Linked DNA regions of Homo sapiens: regions 1 and 2 are each linked to region 3. Evidence: promoter capture Hi-C in human tissues and cell types (Jung and others, 2019). All regions are on one chromosome and are shown on one strand. Each heading gives the region's core, a stretch centred on a gene start or on the middle of the fragment in contact. The rest is flanking DNA. Distances are from core to core; before and after follow the strand shown. Region 1 overlaps SPINDOC (spindlin interactor and repressor of chromatin binding). Region 2 overlaps MARK2 (microtubule affinity regulating kinase 2). Region 3 holds the start of STIP1 (stress induced phosphoprotein 1).

Region 1 (3,315 bases), core at 181-2,680, 370 kb before region 3:
TGCCTTCTTTGCTGAACTGGAAAGGGTGATGCCCTGTGAAAGCTTATGGTCTGTCTGTGTACACAAAGAGCAGGTATCAGGCAGCAATAGGAGTGGGACCATGGCTGTAAATGCTCTGTGAGCACTGAGAAGGGAGGCGAGTTCTGAGGGGATGGGGTGGCCTTTAGAACGGGCATGGTGGCTCATGCCTATAATCCCAGCACTTTGGGAGGCTGAAGCAGGAGGATTGCTTGAGCCCGGGAGTTCACAACCAGCCTGGGCAACATAGCAAGACCCCATCTCTTAAAAATTATTTTTTTGTTTGTTAATTAGCTGGGTGTGATAGCATGCATCTATCTGTAGCCCTAGCTACTCAGGTGGCTAAGGCTGGAGGGTCCCTTGAGTCCAGGAGTTGAAGGCAGCAGTAAGCTATGATAACACCACTGTACTCCAGCCTGGGTGACAAAATGAGACCCCCATCTTTTAAAAAAAAAATTATTAGCCAGGCATGGTGGCGCTCACCTGTAGTCCCAGGTGCTTGGGAGGCTGAAGCAGGAGGATCGCTTGAACCCAGGAGGTCAAGGCTGCAATGAGCTGAGATTACGCCATTGCATTCCAGCCTGGGTGACAAAGTGAGACTCTGTCTCAAAATAAATAAATAAAATTTAAAAATTAAAAGAATTTACCTTCCTCATCCTCAAGAAAGTGTAGAAGTCAGATTTGGATGAAATCTATTGTCAGGGATTGGGGTTCTGGAAAGCTTCGCAGGGATGATGTTGCCCAGCCCAATTAGGGTGGTCTGGACAGATGTGCAAAGGCTGGAGACCTGCAAGAATGCAGCCTGTTGGGAAAGTATGTGTAGTTAGTCCTAAGGTCCAAGACTAGATCAAGAGGAAGTATAGACGCGAGAGTCGTGGGATCCCGGGCACATCGGCTGTGTTGAGTGTGGCGTGTGCCTCATGGGCTCCAGGGGAAGGAAGAAGAACACTTTGGCCAGAAATGCTCTCCTCCCCCATCCCACTCAAACCACTGAGTCTGGAGACGTGCTAAGTGTTGTTGGTTGTGGGCACCTTTAGTGATAACACCCTCCCCCTCTCCCCTCGCAGTGACCCAACAGGAGAAGACCCCACCGCCTAGACCCAGCCCGCTAGAGGCAGGCAGTGATGGCTGTGAGGAGCCGAAGCAGCAGGTGTCTTGGGAGCAGGAGTTCCTGGTGGGCAGCAGCCCAGGAGGCAGCGGGCGGGCACTGTGCATGGTGTGTGGCGCTGAGATCCGGGCACCCTCGGCCGACACAGCTCGCTCGCACATCTTGGAGCAGCACCCTCACACCTTGGACCTGAGCCCTTCTGAGAAGAGCAATATCCTGGAGGCCTGGAGTGAAGGGGTGGCCCTCTTGCAAGACGTGAGAGCTGAGCAGCCGTCCCCACCCAACTCAGGTAGTTGGTCCTGGGGCTGGCGAAGGGAGAAGTCGGACTTGTTGGGGCACTAGAAGCTCATTGTGCTCTTGCTCCCTGCAGACTCGGGCCAGGATGCCCACCCAGACCCAGACGCCAACCCAGACGCTGCCAGAATGCCAGCCGAAATCGTCGTTCTCCTTGACTCTGAGGATAACCCATCCCTCCCTAAAAGGAGCCGGCCCAGGGGACTCCGCCCCCTCGAGCTTCCTGGTTAGTCAACAGAGAAGCCAGTGAGCCCCGGTGGAGGTGGGGGTTTGGGGACAGGGTGAAATACAGGCCCTGTGTTCTGGGCAGGTATCTTCAGGAGCCCTGGGGTGGCAGGGTTCGGGGATGGCCTCTTTAAAAGGGTATGAGGTCTTTTCTTTTTGCAGCTGTCCCTGCCACAGAGCCAGGAAATAAGAAGCCCCGTGGTCAGAGATGGAAGGAACCCCCAGGGGAAGAGCCAGTCAGAAAGAAAAGAGGCAGACCTATGACCAAAAACCTGGACCCTGACCCAGGTGAAGGGGAGGCCCGGGGGAGGCGTGGGCTCTGGCCGCAGTGCTCTGAGGAAATCCGCATCAGTGAGGATGGAGCAGGGCCTGGGCGCAGGGCGCCTGCAGCTCCTGAGGCTTTTTCACTCACAGTTCCATCCCGTCCTCCCTTCCAGAGCCCCCATCGCCAGACTCGCCCACGGAGACTTTCGCAGCACCAGCCGAGGTCCGACACTTCACTGACGGCAGCTTCCCCGCCGGCTTCGTCTTGCAGCTCTTCTCCCACACCCAGCTCAGGGGCCCAGACAGCAAGGACTCACCCAAAGACAGGGAAGTGGCAGAAGGAGGCCTTCCCCGGGCGGAGAGCCCCTCTCCAGGTGAGCCCTCCTGAGAGGGAAGCACAGTAGGGACCTCGCAGGCAGCGCTCCTGGGCCAGGCCTCAGAGAGGCTGCTCTATGGCAGAGCCCACAGTAGGGGTGGGTGGGGTGGGTGGGGTGGGTGGTGCTCAGGTTTCCTGGTACACGGGGCCGGGGCAGGGGATCTGAATGATGAGGAAGGCTGGCCTGAAAGCTGAGCTTTTCTTTTTCTGTTTGTTTGTTTTTTGAGACGGAATCTTGCTCTGTTGCCCAGGCTGGCATGTAGTAGCACAAGCCCGGCTCACTACAACCTCTGCCTCCCAGGTTCAAGCAATTCTCCTGCCTCACCCTCCCTAGTAGCTGGGATTACAGGCGTGCGCCACCATACCCGGCTAATTTTTGTATTTTTAGTAGAGACAGGGTTTTCCCATGTTGGCCAGGTTGGTCTCAAACTCTTGACCTCAGGTGATCCAACTGCCTTGGCCTCGCAAAGTACACCACGCCTGGCCTATTTTTTTATTTTTTATTTTTTGAGACAAGAGTCTTGCTCTGTCGCCCAGGCTGGAGTGCAGTGGCGCGATCTCGGTTCAGTGCATCCTCTGCTTCCCAGGTTCAAGCGATTCTCCTGCCTCACCCTCCTGAGTAGCTGGGATTACAGGCGTGTGCCACCATGCCCAGCTAATTTTTGTATTTTTAGTAGAGACAGGGTTTCGCCATGTTGGCCAGGCTGGTCTCGAACTCCTGACCTCAGGTGATCCACCTGCCTCAGCCTCCCAAACTGCTAGGATTACAGGCGTGAGCCACCGCACCTGACCAGGTGGGCTTTTCTTAGTGTTTCCTTGTTTCCTGGAATTGGTCACTGGGTCCGGGTAGGCCAGTGTTTCCCAGAAGCCTGATACTGATTTCCACACATGCAGTTTGTTCTAGCTAGAGCCTGAGGGGTGCCCACCTTACCCTGGTGGAGCTGAGGCCCAGATGGGGCCACTCAGCAATTCAGTTAGGTGTCCAGAGAATAGATAAGATGAGCAGTGGACAGACACCTCCAGGGGACAC
Region 2 (3,526 bases), core at 481-2,980, 280 kb before region 3:
CCTCTAGGCTGTTTTCTCCAGATATGGCCTGTCTCTTCCAAAGTGCGGGGAGCTGGGACATTCTAGGGCAACGGCCATTCTACCCCAAGCCGTAGCAAAACAACAGGAGATCTCTGCACCCTTACTCAGGGGTCTCCCTTCACAGTCCCCTTCCTGGCTCTTTCACCCCTGGCCTTATGCTCATCCTCTCTGCAGGCCTCGGGGACCAAATACCAAGCTGAAGACCAAGGGCCAGGTTAAGAGTGCTTGTTCCCCAAGGCTGTCTGCTCAGGCCCTGCATTGGGACTGGGATGCCTGGCAGGCACATTGGTGCCACAGCTGATGGAGGAACGTCCAGACAGGGTCTTCAGGCTTTCCCTATCCCCTCCTCCTCCCACCCAGCTGTTGACTGCATGACTGGCTGCTGCCTCAAGGGGCCCCAGCAGGGGGCTGCCCCACAGGGGGTCTGGAGAGAGCAGGGAGGGTGCCTTCCTCGCACAGCCGGGCTCCCTGCTCGCAGTGCGCTTGTGTGCACCCCTGTGTTGGTTGTGTCTTCCTGTTTATTTCTATGTGCTGCTGCTCTTCCTCCTTCCTCTCATATCCTTCCTCCTCTGCAATCCCCAGTTTCCTAGCTCCAGACACCCATCTTCCAGCCAGGAGCTGGAGAAGCCGCTCAGCGGGGCCAGACCTCTTCCCCACCCACCCAACCAAGGTGTCTGCCCTGCCCTGCCCCACCCCACCCTCATCCTCCCTGCGTATGAGCAGATGGCCTGGCAGGCCAGCAGGTAGGGGAGTTGGGAAAGGTCGGAGGAGGCCGCCTTTTCCACTCAGCAGCAGGAAGCCATCCCCAGGTGCCTACCATGCAGACCCAGGCCTTGGCACTTTGAGTCTCCTGACAGGCCCTTGCGTAGCCACGGCCCCTCCTCCTACAGAGATTCAAAGCATTGCAGCCCCTTTCCTCCAAAAGGACTGCAGTCCTGAGACCCTAGCGTGTGGCTCCAAAAACGCACTCACACCTGCAACCCCCAGAACAGCGCGTGAGCCCTGGCTGTGGGGGAGCAGCCTCGTGCCGGGCCGTGTGCTCAGTGTGCTCAGTGAAGTGCGTGCACAGCCACTCCCCCTCCTCCCCCAGAGCAGAGGCTCCTTCTCCCCGGCACAGATCTGGGAATGTGGGGAGGGACAAGCCCCATGTGCTGGGCTCCCTGCTGGAAAGGAATGGTTGAGCCGCCAGTGTGAGGTGCTGCAGAGCCCTGTTGGCTTGCCAGGTGATGGGCAGAGGGCCCTGGGCTTGGGTCCTGCCCACCCACTGGTGGCACCTCCCCAGACCCACTCTCATCTGGGTCTGTGGCGGCGGAAGGAGCGAGAGATCCCAGCACTAAACTCTCCCTCGCTCTGTTTTTTGAGGAACCTGAATGAACCTGAAAGCAAAGACCGAGTGGAGACGCTCAGGTGAGAGGGCTGGAGCCAGCACTGGCCCTGCCCGGGCCACCGGGCTTGCCACAGCCTCCTGCTCCTCTCTTCCTTCTGCCACTTGGCTCTTCCTCCCGTGGTTCTGCCCTGTCCCTACCCTCTGGGGCCTCCCTTTCCTCAGAGAGTTTCCCCTTCCCAAACCCAATTGCAGGAGTTACGGGCCCTTCTCCTCAGGTCTGGTATATTCTGGAAGTCGGAGTTCTGGGTCGGGTGGTTGGGGCTACAGATTCCTACCCCTGGACTATCCCACCTCCCTGTGCTCGGAGGCTTCTTTCTGGAGAGAGAGTCTGTGCTCGTGCTGTTGAGGGCACTGGTGTCTTCCCTGACCCCACCCCGCCTACCCCAAGGCTGGCTTCTCCTCCCCTTCGCTGTCCTGAGAGATGGGGGTTGGAGGACTGCCACCCTCCGCCCCCGCAGGCCAGGGGCCACGCCTGGCTGCTCCTGCTCCCTCCCGCTCTCCTCTCTGGGCTCAGGGGCTGTCTGCCAGGGTGGCTCTCCTGGGGTGGGGTGCCTCAGCCCCCCCGTGACGCCCGCCTCTGCCCTCTCCACAGACCTCACGTGGTGGGCAGTGGCGGCAACGACAAAGAAAAGGAAGAATTTCGGGAGGCCAAGCCCCGCTCCCTCCGCTTCACGTGGAGTATGAAGACCACGAGCTCCATGGAGCCCAACGAGATGATGCGGGAGATCCGCAAGGTGCTGGACGCGAACAGCTGCCAGAGCGAGCTGCATGAGAAGTACATGCTGCTGTGCATGCACGGCACGCCGGGCCACGAGGACTTCGTGCAGTGGGAGATGGAGGTGTGCAAACTGCCGCGGCTCTCTCTCAACGGGGTTCGATTTAAGCGGATATCGGGCACCTCCATGGCCTTCAAAAACATTGCCTCCAAAATAGCCAACGAGCTGAAGCTTTAACAGGCTGCCAGGAGCGGGGGCGGCGGGGGCGGGCCAGCTGGACGGGCTGCCGGCCGCTGCGCCGCCCCACCTGGGCGAGACTGCAGCGATGGATTGGTGTGTCTCCCCTGCTGGCACTTCTCCCCTCCCTGGCCCTTCTCAGTTTTCTCTTACATGTTTGTGGGGGGTGGGAGATTGTTCTCCAGCACCCCACATTCACCCCTGCCCAGAGATTCCCCCTTCTCCTCTCCCCTACTGGAGGCAAAGGAAGGGGAGGGTGGATGGGGGGGCAGGGCTCCCCCTCGGTACTGCGGTTGCACAGAGTATTTCGCCTAAACCAAGAAATTTTTTATTACCAAAAAGAAAAAAGAAAAAAAAAATCCCAGCGGCCACCTTTCCTCCCTGCCCCATTGGGACAGTCGAGACTGGATCTGTGGGGTTTCCCGGGAGGGTGGCTCAGGGCTGGAACACTCTCAGGCAAGAGTGGTGGAGCTCCCGTCAGGCCCTCCGCCAGGCCCACTGTGGGCTTCTCCCCTCTCCTCCCTCCTTCCCCTCCAAGCAAACCACCAGAGGTGGCCTTCCCCTGACCTCAGGCCCCTGGGCTGGAGGCCTGGGCGGTGGGGCAGGGGGCGGGGGTGCTGCGCAGCCCTGCAGTGGGTGGGGCTGGGGGCTGCTCCGGGGCTGCTGAGGCTGGAGGGCCGGCACAAGGCTCCGCCTCCCTCCACACTGTACCCTCTGCCCCTCCTCCCCAGAGCTGGGCATTTCCTTCCACAAGCTGCTGTGGGGACGTGTGTTCCCTCAAAGTCTGTGCCATCTTCTCCCACCCCTCCCGGGTAGAAGGAGGGGCTGACCCCAGGGCTGGGAGAGGGGAGGGGACTGGAGGGCAGACTGGCTTCTCGGTCCCCAGGGGGCCGCTTGGGCTGTTGGTCTCCAGAGCAGGGCCACTGGGCACTCTGTGATGGGGGAGCCTTTGTCTGAAAGCACAGCCCCCTCGCCCTTCCTCTCCCCATGGCTTCCCCTTCATTGGCATTAATCTGGGCACCAGCTCTCTCCATAGCAGTGACTTCCCTCACCACTCTCATCTCTCAGCCTTGCCTTTTCTTCCTGACACTGTCGCCCCCTCCTCTCAGGAGACACTGCCGAGGGCCACCTGGCAGAAGGCTGAGTTAGGCAGCAGGGCCGGGAG
Region 3 (3,248 bases), core at 398-2,897:
AAAAAAACAAAAAAAAAAAACCCAGAAAAATTAGCTAGGCGTAATGGTGCTTGCCTGTAACCCCAGGTACTTGGGAGGCTGAGGTGGGAGGATGGCTTGAGCTCAGGAGGTTGAGGCTGCAATGAGCTGTGATGGCGCCACTGCACTCCAGCCTGGGAGACAGTGAGATTCGACTCCGTCTCAAAAAAAAAAAAAAAAAAAAAAAAAAAAAAGCAGGCGGTTAGATTGCACAGGCCCTGAACCCCATCCTAAAGCCTCCAGCACTTTCAAGTGAGGGATTACCAGGTTTGCGGATCTGCTGCAACTTGGCTGCAGTGTCCAAAATGGGTGGGGCAGGTGGAATTAAAGATGAGGCTGTGGAGACAAGCTACTGGCAGAGAGGACACACTTTAAACCCTGGGAAGATATCATTACCCAGAGAGGGGGAAGGATGAGGACACTGCAGAGCCCAACATCATCGCCAGACCCGAGTCATGCGGCTCCTTTGTTCCAGGAACCAAGGCTGACCCTAGAAGCAATAGCAGCATTTTCACTCCGCAGGTGCATCTCTTCCACGCTTTGGGGTGCCTGCCCTGCCTCCGACTTCTGGGGCTGGGATTTAAGGCCCTACCAGGGCACAGCTCGCCAGCTCACAGGCGGTCAACTACTGATTCAGTTCTTCGTCTCCTTCACTCCTTTACATCGGACTCACGAGGGCTGAGGGGCAGCTCCCTTTCGTTAAGTGCTTCCCGCGTGCTCAACACCGCACGAATTCCCCTCGGCCCTACAGGACCAAACGACCGGCGCGCTGAGAAAGGGTGTGCGGTTCCACTGAGGACGCCCAAGCGGGACAGCCGGGCCCGCCGCGGTGAGATCCCCGGCCTGTCCAGCCCAAGCCCAAGCGCCCTCGCGGTCACGTGGCATTTCCGGAACATTCAGAACCTAACAGCCAGGAGGCAGGAGGGCCGGGCCGAGGCCGGAGCGCTGGACAACGCGGGTAGCTGGCGCTCGAGGGACAGGCAGCTCCCACCGGCTAGGACCCCCATCCCGATGCGCGGGCGAAGGGCTGGGGCCCTGTGCCGCTGGCGATCCCGGGGACCGCCTGGAACTCGCGGCACTCGGGAGCGAGAGGGAAAGCAACCCAGAGGCCCCGCAGCCGCCGGCGACACAGCTACAGACCCCGACTGCAGCCGGTACTCCCATATATCAGGGGCGGGGCGAAACCCGGCCTTTTGAAGGGCAGCGATTTAAACCAATCAGCGCAAAGAGTTGGCAACCCTCCGCCCAATTGGAATCGCTCTCATTCTGAAGGCGGTTCCGACATGGAGTCCGGCAGCCCAATGGGAGAGGTGGAAATTTCCAGAACGATCAGAACCAATGGGCGCGGCCAGCGCGGCTACGATTGGCAGTGCAAAAGACCAATCCGTGTCGCAGAAGTTCGCTCCTCCCTCCATTCGTGGAGCCTGAGATGGGTGGGTTTATAGAGGAGCGCCCAATCCTGAGGTGCGGGGGAGGCAGGGTTGAGGGAATTACTCCCCGCTGTCCAATGAGAAGGAAGTGGAGATGATGGGCTGGACCTCAAGCCAATAGTAGAGCAGCACAGACATTCCCCCTAGAAGAACTCGACCAGTGAGCAGGCGAGGAAGGGGCGGGAGCCGGGGTCCCGGTAGCTTCTAGTAGGTTCCAGAAGGCGGCGCGTGCGGTTGGGAACGCGGAGCGGACGGATTCGATTCAACGGGGTTCCGGACCGCGCTGCGCTATGGAGCAGGTGAAGGGGGAGGGGCGGGCTGAGGCCCCGAGCCTGCTCGGGGACCGGCGGTGGCCAGGCCGCGGTAGGGGGGCGGGGCGGGCGCCGGATCCAGGAGACCGGAGCTCGGCGCTGGGGCCGGACGGGGCGGCGGCGGGGAGGTGAGGGCCGCGGGCGGCGGGCGGGAGCGGGATCTTTAGCGAGGCCGGCCGCGGGGAGCGCCCATCGCCCCCTGGTTGGGCGAGGAGGGCCCGGCGGAGGCCACAGCTTGGGTGAGTCCGGCCGGCGGCGGGAAGAGGGGTCGCGACCGGGCCCTGAAGGCGTCCCGAGGGGGCGGCTGCGGGCCATGTTGGGGAGGGTGCGGGCCGCAGGGGGCGGGGTGGAGGTGGGCCGGGGGCCGGGGTCCGCACCCGCGAGGTAGCCCTCCGGGAGATCTCAGACGGCCGACGGAGAAACCGCTCGGGACTTAGCCACGAGGAACTTGGACGGATCCAGGGAGCGGGGACGGGGATACACTGGGAGTAGCCGAGGATCTTAGCAGCCTGGGATGCAGTTGGGGCAAATGTTACTCTTCTACATCTGAGAAGGTCAGGGTGGGAGAGCGTTGAGCGGGGGTCTGAGGAGCGACAGACCGACTCTACCTGATGCGGGAAAGGGAAGGGTGCCGCAAAAGTCCTTGGGACGAATTCCATCTCTGACAGTGTTTTACAAATGTATTGCGGCCCCTCCCCCTCTTTTTGTATGCTTGTGTGTGTGATTGTCGAGTGACCGAGGACCAACACTTCCGAAAGGTGGGTCTGAAAGATGGGTTTCTGACGACCCGGGGGTGGTTGTAGACAATTTACAGAGATCAACCGCTGGAAGTTATGGGCCTCTACTGAGCATTTGAGGGGCCGAGTTTGAAGCGGTTGCTGCTTCCTTTCAGTGACTTGGTTATGTCCTCAGTAGCTTGCGGTTATGAAAGGCCTAGAGGTTTTGTTCGATTTGAAGCTGTCATTGAGCTGTAATGATTCATCGGAAGAAAAAGGACAAAACAACCTCCAAGAAACCTCTACCAACCTCCGAGAAATCATCCTCCCGCTCGGGAGTACTACTGTCTTCGCTCCGGGCCCATAACACTTGGGGGTGACAATTCTGAAACTATACCTGGTATCTGGTTCTTACTTCAGGGCCATAAAACTAAGATCGCCCACACTCTCCCCTTAAATAAGACATCTCGATGGACTAGTGACTACCATCCTTTTTTTGGTGTGAGCTACAGAGCTGAGCCTTTGGTCTCTTGTAGCAGTTGCTGCTTTAGGCAAAGCTCGAGCTTCCTTGCTGTATTAAAAAGAGTGGAAATGAAGTTAGTAAACTTTTTTGTGCCCATATAATATTTCAGTTGTATCTAGGGTTAAATGGGCTGTAGTATAGGTGAGGAAAAGATTTCTGGAATAAGACGTTGCTCTTTTACCTTTAAGAAAGGATCTGGGGCCGGGCACCGTGGCTCAGCCTGTAATCCCAGCACTTTGGGAGGCCGAGG

The links. The method cuts DNA at HindIII sites, captures the fragments that hold promoters and counts their contacts. A contact is called where the count stands out against the background at its distance.
Region 1: a fragment that was not itself captured here is called in contact with the fragment with the promoter of STIP1 in region 3 in 2 of the 25 tissues and cell types used here (dorsolateral prefrontal cortex and thymus).
Region 2: a fragment that was not itself captured here is called in contact with the fragment with the promoter of STIP1 in region 3 in 2 of the 25 tissues and cell types used here (dorsolateral prefrontal cortex and mesendoderm cells).

What each region holds. Positions count from the first base shown.
Region 1 is chr11:63,816,720-63,820,034 of GRCh38, forward strand. SPINDOC (spindlin interactor and repressor of chromatin binding) reads left to right here. Exons shown (of 6, transcript NM_138471.3): 2 at 1,086-1,415; 3 at 1,497-1,646; 4 at 1,808-1,933; 5 at 2,083-2,283. Among named protein-coding and RNA genes, the nearest start is that of SPINDOC, 4.9 kb to the left of the region's middle. The HindIII fragment of the contact is 4,226 bases long and covers 1-3,315 here.
Region 2 is chr11:63,906,877-63,910,402 of GRCh38, forward strand. MARK2 (microtubule affinity regulating kinase 2) reads left to right here. Exons shown (of 19, transcript NM_001039469.3): 18 at 1,384-1,428; 19 at 2,001-3,526. The coding sequence ends at 2,361. Among named protein-coding and RNA genes, the nearest start is that of RCOR2, 8.5 kb to the right of the region's middle. RefSeq lists an enhancer at 585-1,258 and a silencer at 3,381-3,526. The HindIII fragment of the contact is 7,074 bases long and covers 1-3,526 here.
Region 3 is chr11:64,184,524-64,187,771 of GRCh38, forward strand. It overlaps STIP1 (stress induced phosphoprotein 1), which reads left to right and starts at 1,648. Exons shown (of 14, transcript NM_006819.3): 1 at 1,648-1,747. The coding sequence starts at 1,739. LOC124902686 (a long non-coding RNA gene) reads right to left here and starts at 1,158. Exons shown (of 2, transcript XR_007062712.1): 1 at 1-1,158. RefSeq lists enhancers at 1-147, 771-840 and silencers at 961-1,100, 1,801-1,860. The HindIII fragment of the contact is 11,787 bases long and covers 1-3,248 here.